3 separate regions of the Homo sapiens genome follow, and regions 2 and 3 are each linked to region 1. Evidence: promoter capture Hi-C in human tissues and cell types (Jung and others, 2019). All regions are on one chromosome and are shown on one strand. Each heading gives the region's core, a stretch centred on a gene start or on the middle of the fragment in contact. The rest is flanking DNA. Distances are from core to core; before and after follow the strand shown.

Region 1 (2,700 bases), core at 73-2,572:
TCTCTGGAACTAACATATATCACACTTTCATGTACTCCACCTACCAGGAACTAGATGTTTGTCTTTCAACAAGATTGAACTGCAATAACTGAAGAAGGTGCCACAGTTTAAAACTGTTCTGGTCCTGACTTGAATCAGGGGCGTTTAAAGTGAAGTGTGCAATAAATCTCTCGAGCTTTGAATAATTGTTGAAACGTAGGTTAATAATGCCCAATTAGTTTCAGACAACTGGAAGGTTAAAACCAAGCCTAACGTTTTTACTTTCTTTTTCTTTTTTTTTTTTTGAGATGGAGTCTCGCTCTGTCGCCCAGGTTGGAGTGCAGTTGCGCGATCTCGGCTCACTGCAACCTCCGCCTCGCGGGTTCAAGCGATTCTCCTGCCTCAGCCTGGCGAGTAGCTGGGACTACAGGCGCACGCCACCACGCTCAGCTAATTTTTGTATTTTTAATAGAGGCGGGGTTTCACCATGTTGGCCAGGATGAACGTTTTTACTTTCTAGGTTACATTGTTTCTGTGTTTGAACGTGGCAGTCAAGAACATAAGAAATCATGGTATTCGGCTTTTACATCTGAACACAAACGTGTATGAGATAGCCAAAACACTACAAAATCCACGAGTCTGCACATGTATCTCAAAAGAACCTTCGACAACTCAAAGAGTGCCTGTTAGGGTGTTGCACGATTGCTACTGCACTTCTCAATGTCTGCCGCTGAAGCCTAGCGGACAGGTTTGTGTTCTCTGCGGCTAGAGTGGTGTCTCACACACAGTAAGAGTCCAAGACAGAATAGCTATGTGGGGTGCTCACTGCAGTGCTCCATAAATATAGGGTACAAACCACTCTAAGCAGAAAATAAGTCCTCGGTGCTGGCCCAGAGAGACTTGCAAACAAACTGATGCCAGAGACTCTATATCATGGGGCTGGCGGGATAATTACATGAGATTACACGAAAAACGTTTAAAACTGCCGTTGGCTAGTAGTAAATGTTCAGTAAATGCACTGGCCTTTATTATTGGGCATGGGCGCTCTGAAGGGATAGGATCCCCCCACCCCACGCCCAAACCCGTTCGCCCCGCCGCTCACCCGGGGCCCCAGGGTGCGGGCTGCATCCCCGCAGCGTAGAGACATTTCCTCTTTAGGACTAGCGCAGTGCAGGGGTTGAGGGATCGCTAACTCCCGGGAAAGGACAGGTCGAAATTACGTCGCTCCATTTATGACAAGCAGCCAAGCTGCTCCACGATTGGCTGCTTTAGCCTTACGTGCGTCGCGCACTCATGACGCAATACGCAGGCCCCTTACGCGATACAAGTACGTAATGACGACAGACGTTCTTTCTTTGCTGCGTCTACTGCGAGGTAAGGATGTTTCTGTGCTCGTGGGGGTACTGGGAATCTGAAACCATCTGCTCTGGGAAAGGCTGCGGCGCGGCTCCCACTCTCGGAACCTTGTCCTGTTTGTCCCCCAGCTCGGCAAGCGCCATATGAGCCTGGCGGCGCCAGATGCGAATCCTGTTGTGGGCTTTTTGGCCTATTCCCGCCCCTCAGTCTTGCCGGGATGGCACCGCCCGCATAGGACTTCCAGGGTTGGGCTGAGTGGGAGTTCGACTGCTGGGCCTCGTAATTCTCGCTTTGGGGCTGCTCCTTCCAGGCTGGGACACACTGGGGCCCGCTGTCGGTCTCCCGTCCTCCGACATCTTGTCTGGAACTTCCGCCTGGCAGTCTCCAGTAGGAGTGGAGCTCTGTGCGGCGTAGTTTGGTGGAAAAACGGGCCTTGCGTCGGCCTCACCCCCAGTGTTTGTGTTTCAGAATGAAGACTATTCTCAGCAATCAGACTGTCGACATTCCAGAAAATGGTATGAGACTTGATGTCTTTTACTTACATCTTTACTGCACGTTCCAAGCGTTGTGTGGCCTGACGAGTGTGTTCTCTCTTCTAGTCGACATTACTCTGAAGGGACGCACAGTTATCGTGAAGGGCCCCAGAGGAACCCTGCGGAGGGACTTCAATCACATCAATGTAGAACTCAGCCTTCTTGGAAAGAAAAAAAAGAGGGTGAGGGTTTTTCTTCTGATAATTCAGTTGCTCGTTGGAAGGTGGTTTATAACAGCATCACATTTGGTTGCTTTAACAATTTTCGAATTAAGGTTCAGTGCTTCAGCTTTAAATGTTGCTGTCCAGAATACCAGCCTGTTCAGTGAAATTGAAAAACCAGATTCTGAACACAGCCAATTATATAAAGCTCAAATGTAATAGTGGTCATCAGTGACACGTCTTAATGGTGTTAGAAGTTTGGTTTATTTTCCTAGTGATTGCTTTGTAAAAATCACAGGAACCGGCAGTAGGTCATTTAAACCTGATGATTTAATTTTCCAGAAGGGAAGTTTGTTGCAACTTCTACAAAGCTTAACTGTTGGGAGGTTTTATAGGTGGTTGGATTTTTCCAGTTGAAAACCATGTGCTTTGATAAGGGTTAATTCTAGAATCTTAAAGTAATTCGGTAAGTGGTCTGTTGTCTTTTAAGCCTGCATATTTCTGGAAAGAATACATTTTTTGTTCTGTTACAGCTCCGGGTTGACAAATGGTGGGGTAACAGAAAGGAACTGGCTACCGTTCGGACTATTTGTAGTCATGTACAGAACATGATCAAGGGTGTTACACTGGTAAGCAGATGTATCAGACTTCCTTGTTTTGGAAAGGGAGGT
Region 2 (2,700 bases), core at 58-2,557, 730 kb before region 1:
TGGCATTTTAAATTACATATAAAATTTCAAGATTAGTCATAAACAAATGTTTTTTGCTTTTTTTAAAAACCACATAAACCTTTTAAAAAGTAAAATTTCTATTAAAATGTTTTTTTCCAAATAATAAGTTTAAGTTCTCAAATGTTTACCAAAAACAAAACAAGCTTTACAATTTTGAGCAAACCTATCTCTATAGTATTTATTATTCAAAATAGAAAATAAAATTGTTTTTGTTCTCTAATTCTTGTCTTTTAATCTTCTAAATATACAATAATGAGATTTCTAAAAATACTTTGAAAGGGTATTCACATTACTAAGTTTTCTTTTAACTTTAAATTTTTTTCTTTCAAATTCAATTTACAATAGCCTTTTATATTATCATTTATCACAAGAAAACCATAAAACAGCAAAAACCACTATTGCTATTATTAGCAACATCTTCACTTTGTAAATGAGAAAAGTGAAGTTCAGAAAGGTTAAGCAACTTACATAAGGCCACACAGCCAATGAGTAAGGGGACTCCCTGAATCAATTTACTTCTACAGCATTTCCCCTTACAGAAGACAAATTACTTTTCAAATTAATTCATTACAGGACAACAAGAGGCACACGTCGAATGGAAGGGAGACCTGAAAAAAATAGAGAAAAACTGTTATTTTTAAAGGGACATGGATTTATTATTACAAAGAGTAAGCTATAAAATTAAACTATCTGTACAGTAAAATCCCAATTTATTTTTTATTTTATTTATTTATTTATTTATTTATTTTTTGAGACAGAGTCTTGCTCTGTTGCCCAGGCTGGAGTGCAGTGGCGCAATGTCGGCTCACTGCAACCTCCGCCTCCCAGGTTCAAGCGATTCTTACGCCTCAGCCTCCCGAGCAGCTGGGATTACAAATGTGTGCCACCACGCCCAGATAATTTTTGTGTTTTCAGTAGAGATGGGGTTTCTCCATGTTGGCCAGGCTAGTCTCGAACTCCTGATCTTTGATGATCCACCTGCCTCGGCCTCCCAAAGTGCTGGGATTACAGGCATGAGCCACCATGCCCAGCCCAAATCTCAATTTAATATGAAAAAAATTTTTCACGTCTGAAAGGCAACAAATAATTAGACCCGATAGTAATAGTGACTGTCTCTGAATGGTAAAATTGGAGATAATTTTTTCACTTTTTTCTTTAATTTTTTGTACTCTGCAGATTTTTAATGATCAGTAAGGATTAACTCTATAATCAGAAAAATAAACATTACAATCTATTTTTAATAAAGAGCTGTACTCATATAGTTTATTCTCTTCAGTGATTCTCTAATGTATTTGGTTTCACTTCAGTTTTTTGCTTTGCTGGGAATTTTTTATTTAAAAAAAAAAAGGCAGATGAAGTTTCATTGTAAAGAAAAAAAAATAATGTGAAGTCCAGTGCTGCATTTTGAGGGCCTGTTTCTCCATTCTAGCCCGTGCAGCCATACAGGGAAGCTTCTGAGAACTTAATCTGAAAACCATTTTTGTGGTTTTCTTTGTCTCCACAGTAAGTCCCACGTTTAACATAGATGACTACCTGCCCGATAGTCATGTCTTCTTCCTTGCTAAAGAACCTCTATTTTGAGATGGACAAAATGTTCTGTTCCAGGGGGTGAATCATGATGTCTAAGACTGAAAAAGAATCTTCTGATTCCTGCTTCTCAGCTTCCCCTGCAGCTATGAGTGGCTGTGTGACCCAGTCCTCATCAACGAAATGTTCGGGAAAGTCTTGCTTGCTCCTGGGAGAGGTCCTCCTCACCAGTTAAAGTAGACACGGGCAGGAGCACCCGTCTTCCTTACATGCTTTGGGTGTAGCCGTGGAGAATTAGATGCCTTGAAGGTTGCAGCAGCCCTGAGGACAAGCAAAGAAACCCAAAAAACTGCAGAGAGACACAGCAGAAGCCTGGCATTGTTGACTCACTTACCACCTCTTACTTTTTATTATGTGAGATAAATGTCTTACCTAAGCCACAGTTCATTACTCTAATACTTGACTGTCTTCTAATGATATAGTAACAAATAACAAAAAGCTTATGACGTTGAAGCTACCAACCTCTTATAAAATGTAAAAAGTAGGCCGGTCGCAGTGGCTCACGCCTGTAATCCCGGCACTTTGGGAGGCCGAGGCGGGCGGATCACGAGGTCAGAAGGTCGAGACCATCCTGGCTAACATGGTGAAACCCCGTCTCTACTAAAAATACAAAAAAATTAGCTGGGCACGGTAGCGGGCTCCTGTAGTCCCAGCTACTCGGGAGGCTGAGGCAGGAGAATGGCGTAAACCCGGGAGGCGGAGCTTGCAGTGAGCAGAGATCGCGCCACTGCACTCCAGCCTGGGCGACAGAGCCAGACGCCGTCTCAAAAAAAAAAAAAAAATGTAAAAAGTAGTTTAGCCAATACCCAACCTAAATGGCCAAAAATGTAGAATACTGTATAGAAATGATTGGTAGATTATCTTACTGGGATGTTACACACGGTCATTTGAAAATAGTATTTGGGAAGATCATGTGACCACATAAGGAGATGCTCATGATACAAGGTTACGTGCAAAAAGAGAAACAGGACTTGGGATTGTATCTGTGCATTATGACTACAACAGTGTTTCCAAAGACTATGAGGAAGCAAAGCCAAACCACTAACAGGAATTGTCTTAGGGTAACATGGTTGGTTTTATACATTCCTCTAT
Region 3 (2,700 bases), core at 188-2,687, 860 kb before region 1:
ATATACAAGAGGTGTCCAATAAATGCTCATGAAATACATGATTGTAGTGGTGAGAGCCAGGCCTGACAGAGATCTCTTGATTGGCAGTCACCCTCCTCCCATGCCACAATTCCCCAGGCAGTCTTGGCTGGCCTTCCCTGGGCAGTGACGCTTCTGGTGTCCGCGGTGAGAGGATGGTGGCAGCTGAGTGTCTTAACCTTAATGTGCACACACCTGTGCCAAGCATGGCTCCCTAAAGGGCAGCCTTAAGAGCAAGATGAAACAACCTTGGATGTAAATGCGCCTGGCAGAGAAACTAGCCCCACTGTGACCCAGCTTGTCAGAGTGGATCCCCGTTGCGGAACGGATGTGCTGTGTTTGGGAGCTGACAGATTCCAGTCAAAATGGAAGGACCTAAATGAATTTAGATTCCACCTTTGACCTAGCCTGGATGCAGAGGCTCATGCCTGTAATCCCAGCACTTTGGGAGGCCGAGGCAGGCAGATCACTTGAGATCAGGAGTTCGAGACCAGCCTGGCCAACATGGCAAAACCCCACCTCTACTAAAAATATAAAAATTAGCTGGGCGTGGTGGCAGGCGCCTATAATCCCAGATTCTCGGGAAGCTGAGGCAAAAGAATCACTTGAACCCGGGAGGTGGAGGTTGCAGTGAGCCGAGATCGCACCACTGCAGTCCAGCCTGGGCGACAGAGTGAGACTCTGTTTCAAAAAAAAAAAAAAAATTCTACCTTTGACCTAAATCCAGTGTAGTAATAGCCAAGATAAGTAAGATAAGTACAAGCTCAAGAGTTAAGCTTCTGGAGAAAAGAGAACTGTATTTAACTTAACTTAGGTTGTAAGCCCCTCAGCAGAGGGGAGTGGATCACCTTTTTGATGAGAATACATGTTTTAAGATAAATATTAAAACCACTTCCAGCTGGTCATGGTGGCTCACACCTGTAATCCCAGCACTTTGGGAGGCTAAGGTGGGTGGATCACAAGGTCAGGAGTTCGAGACCAGCCTGGCCAAAATGGTGAAACCCCATCTCTACTAAAAATACAAACATCAGCCTGGCATGGTGGTGGGCGCCTGTAGTCCCGGCTACTTGGGAAGCTGAGGCAGGAAAATCGCTTGAACCCGGGATGCAGAAGTTGCAGTGAGCCAAGATCTGGCCACTGCACTCCAGCCTGGGTGACAGAGCGAGACTCTGTCTCAAACAACACAAAACAAAACAAAAAAAATATTTCCTAGTTTCCCAGTAGAAACAGGCACTGAGAGGTGAGTTTTGATCAGAATAGTGCTGCAAAATCCACTCATACTGCAAATATTTACTGAATGCTGGGCAGAGAGTTCACAAGAATTAACTACACATCATCTCATCCTTCAAGGTGATTATGGAATATTTAGAGGAAAAAGACAAATTTCTAAGAAAAGCTGAATAACAATAAAAGTTAAATAAGTAATGCAAGCAAGAAGACTATTTTTTTTTTTTTTTTGAGAGAAGTCTCACTCTTGTTCCCCAGGCTGGAGTTCAATGGCACAGTCTCGGCTCACTGCAACCTCCATCTCCCGGGTTCAAAAGATTCTCCTGCCTCAGCCTCCCAAGTAGCTGGGATTACAGGCGCCTGCCACCAGGTCCGGCTAATTTTTTTGTATTTTTGGTAGAGACGGGGTTTCACCATGTTGGCCAGGCTGGTCTCAAATTCCTGACCTCAGGAGATCCACCTGCCTTGGCCTCCCAAAGTGCTGGGATTACAGGCGTGAGCCACTGCACCTGACTCTTTTTTTTTTTTTTTTTGACAGGGTCTTGCTTTGTCACCCACTGGAGTGCAATGGTGCAATCTCAGGTCATTGCAACCTCTGCCTCCTGGACTCAAGCGATCCTCCCACCTCGGCCTCCAGAGAGCTGGGACCACAGGCACCGCCACCACATCCAGCTACTTTTTTTTTTTATTTTTAGTAGAGACAGGGATTTCACCATGTTGCCCGGGCTAGTCCCGAACTCCTAAGCTCAAGCGATTTGCCCACATCAGCCTCCCACAGTGCTGGGATTATAGGCGTGAGCCACTGCACCCTGCCAACTATTCCTTAAAGGCGTGACTCGCTGCCAAATGAGAGGTCTGAACCAGAAGTTCAGAGAAGGGAAAGAAGGTTGTGCCTCCAGGGTGGACTGATCCATAGGAGGCAGAGACCAAAAACGAGGCTCTCACTTGACGGACTGGACCAGCAAGATGGAGTGCATGGTGGAGGCGTGGGGGTGCATCTTGGTAGAAAAAAAGCCTTTGGGATTTGGGACTGGAGTTTCTGTTCTGTCATTTATTAGTGAGAGATCTCAGGCATTTTTAAAAAATCTTCTTTGCACCTCAGTTTCCTCATGGGTGAAAGGAATAATATTATCTACCCCACTGGGCTCCACATATCATTCAGACCACAAGCATCTGTGGAGTCTACTTATACTAAGCCCTTTTGATAAGCCCTGGAGTACAAGATGAAAAGAGAAGGGCCTGCCCTCAAGAGCTGCCAGAGAAGGAGGGGCAGTCACTGTTGGTCCCTCTCTTCATTTACCTTCCAGGGGTCTGTCTTTTTGTTTGTTTGTTTGTTTGTTTGTTTTGTTTTGTTTTTTGTGTGTGTGAGAGATGGAGTCTCACTCTGTCATCCAGGCTGGAGTGCAGTGGCACGATCTCGGCTCACTGCAAGCTTCGCCTCCTGGATTCAAGCAA

What was found. Contacts are between HindIII fragments. The study calls those that stand out against the background at their distance.
Region 2: a contact is called between a fragment that was not itself captured here and the fragment with the promoter of RPL9 in region 1, in 1 of the 25 tissues and cell types used here (spleen).
Region 3: a fragment that was not itself captured here is called in contact with the fragment with the promoter of RPL9 in region 1 in 1 of the 25 tissues and cell types used here (dorsolateral prefrontal cortex).

The regions. Positions count from the first base shown.
Region 1 is chr4:39,457,544-39,460,243 of GRCh38, reverse strand. RPL9 (ribosomal protein L9) reads left to right here and starts at 1,322. Exons shown (of 8, transcript NM_000661.5): 1 at 1,322-1,353; 2 at 1,804-1,850; 3 at 1,935-2,050; 4 at 2,563-2,658. The coding sequence starts at 1,805. LIAS (lipoic acid synthetase) reads right to left here and starts at 1,188. Exons shown (of 11, transcript NM_006859.4): 1 at 1,082-1,188. The coding sequence starts at 1,126. RefSeq lists enhancers at 661-710, 1,081-1,375, 1,571-2,321 and a silencer at 1,091-1,140. The HindIII fragment of the contact is 10,915 bases long and covers 1-2,700 here.
Region 2 is chr4:40,183,028-40,185,727 of GRCh38, reverse strand. It overlaps a transcript of N4BP2 not described here. Among named protein-coding and RNA genes, the nearest start is that of RHOH, 13 kb to the left of the region's middle. The HindIII fragment of the contact is 3,872 bases long and covers 1-2,700 here.
Region 3 is chr4:40,317,860-40,320,559 of GRCh38, reverse strand. The region is part of intron 2 of LINC02265 (long intergenic non-protein coding RNA 2265); the gene reads right to left. Among named protein-coding and RNA genes, the nearest start is that of LINC02265, 12 kb to the right of the region's middle. The HindIII fragment of the contact is 3,787 bases long and covers 1-2,700 here.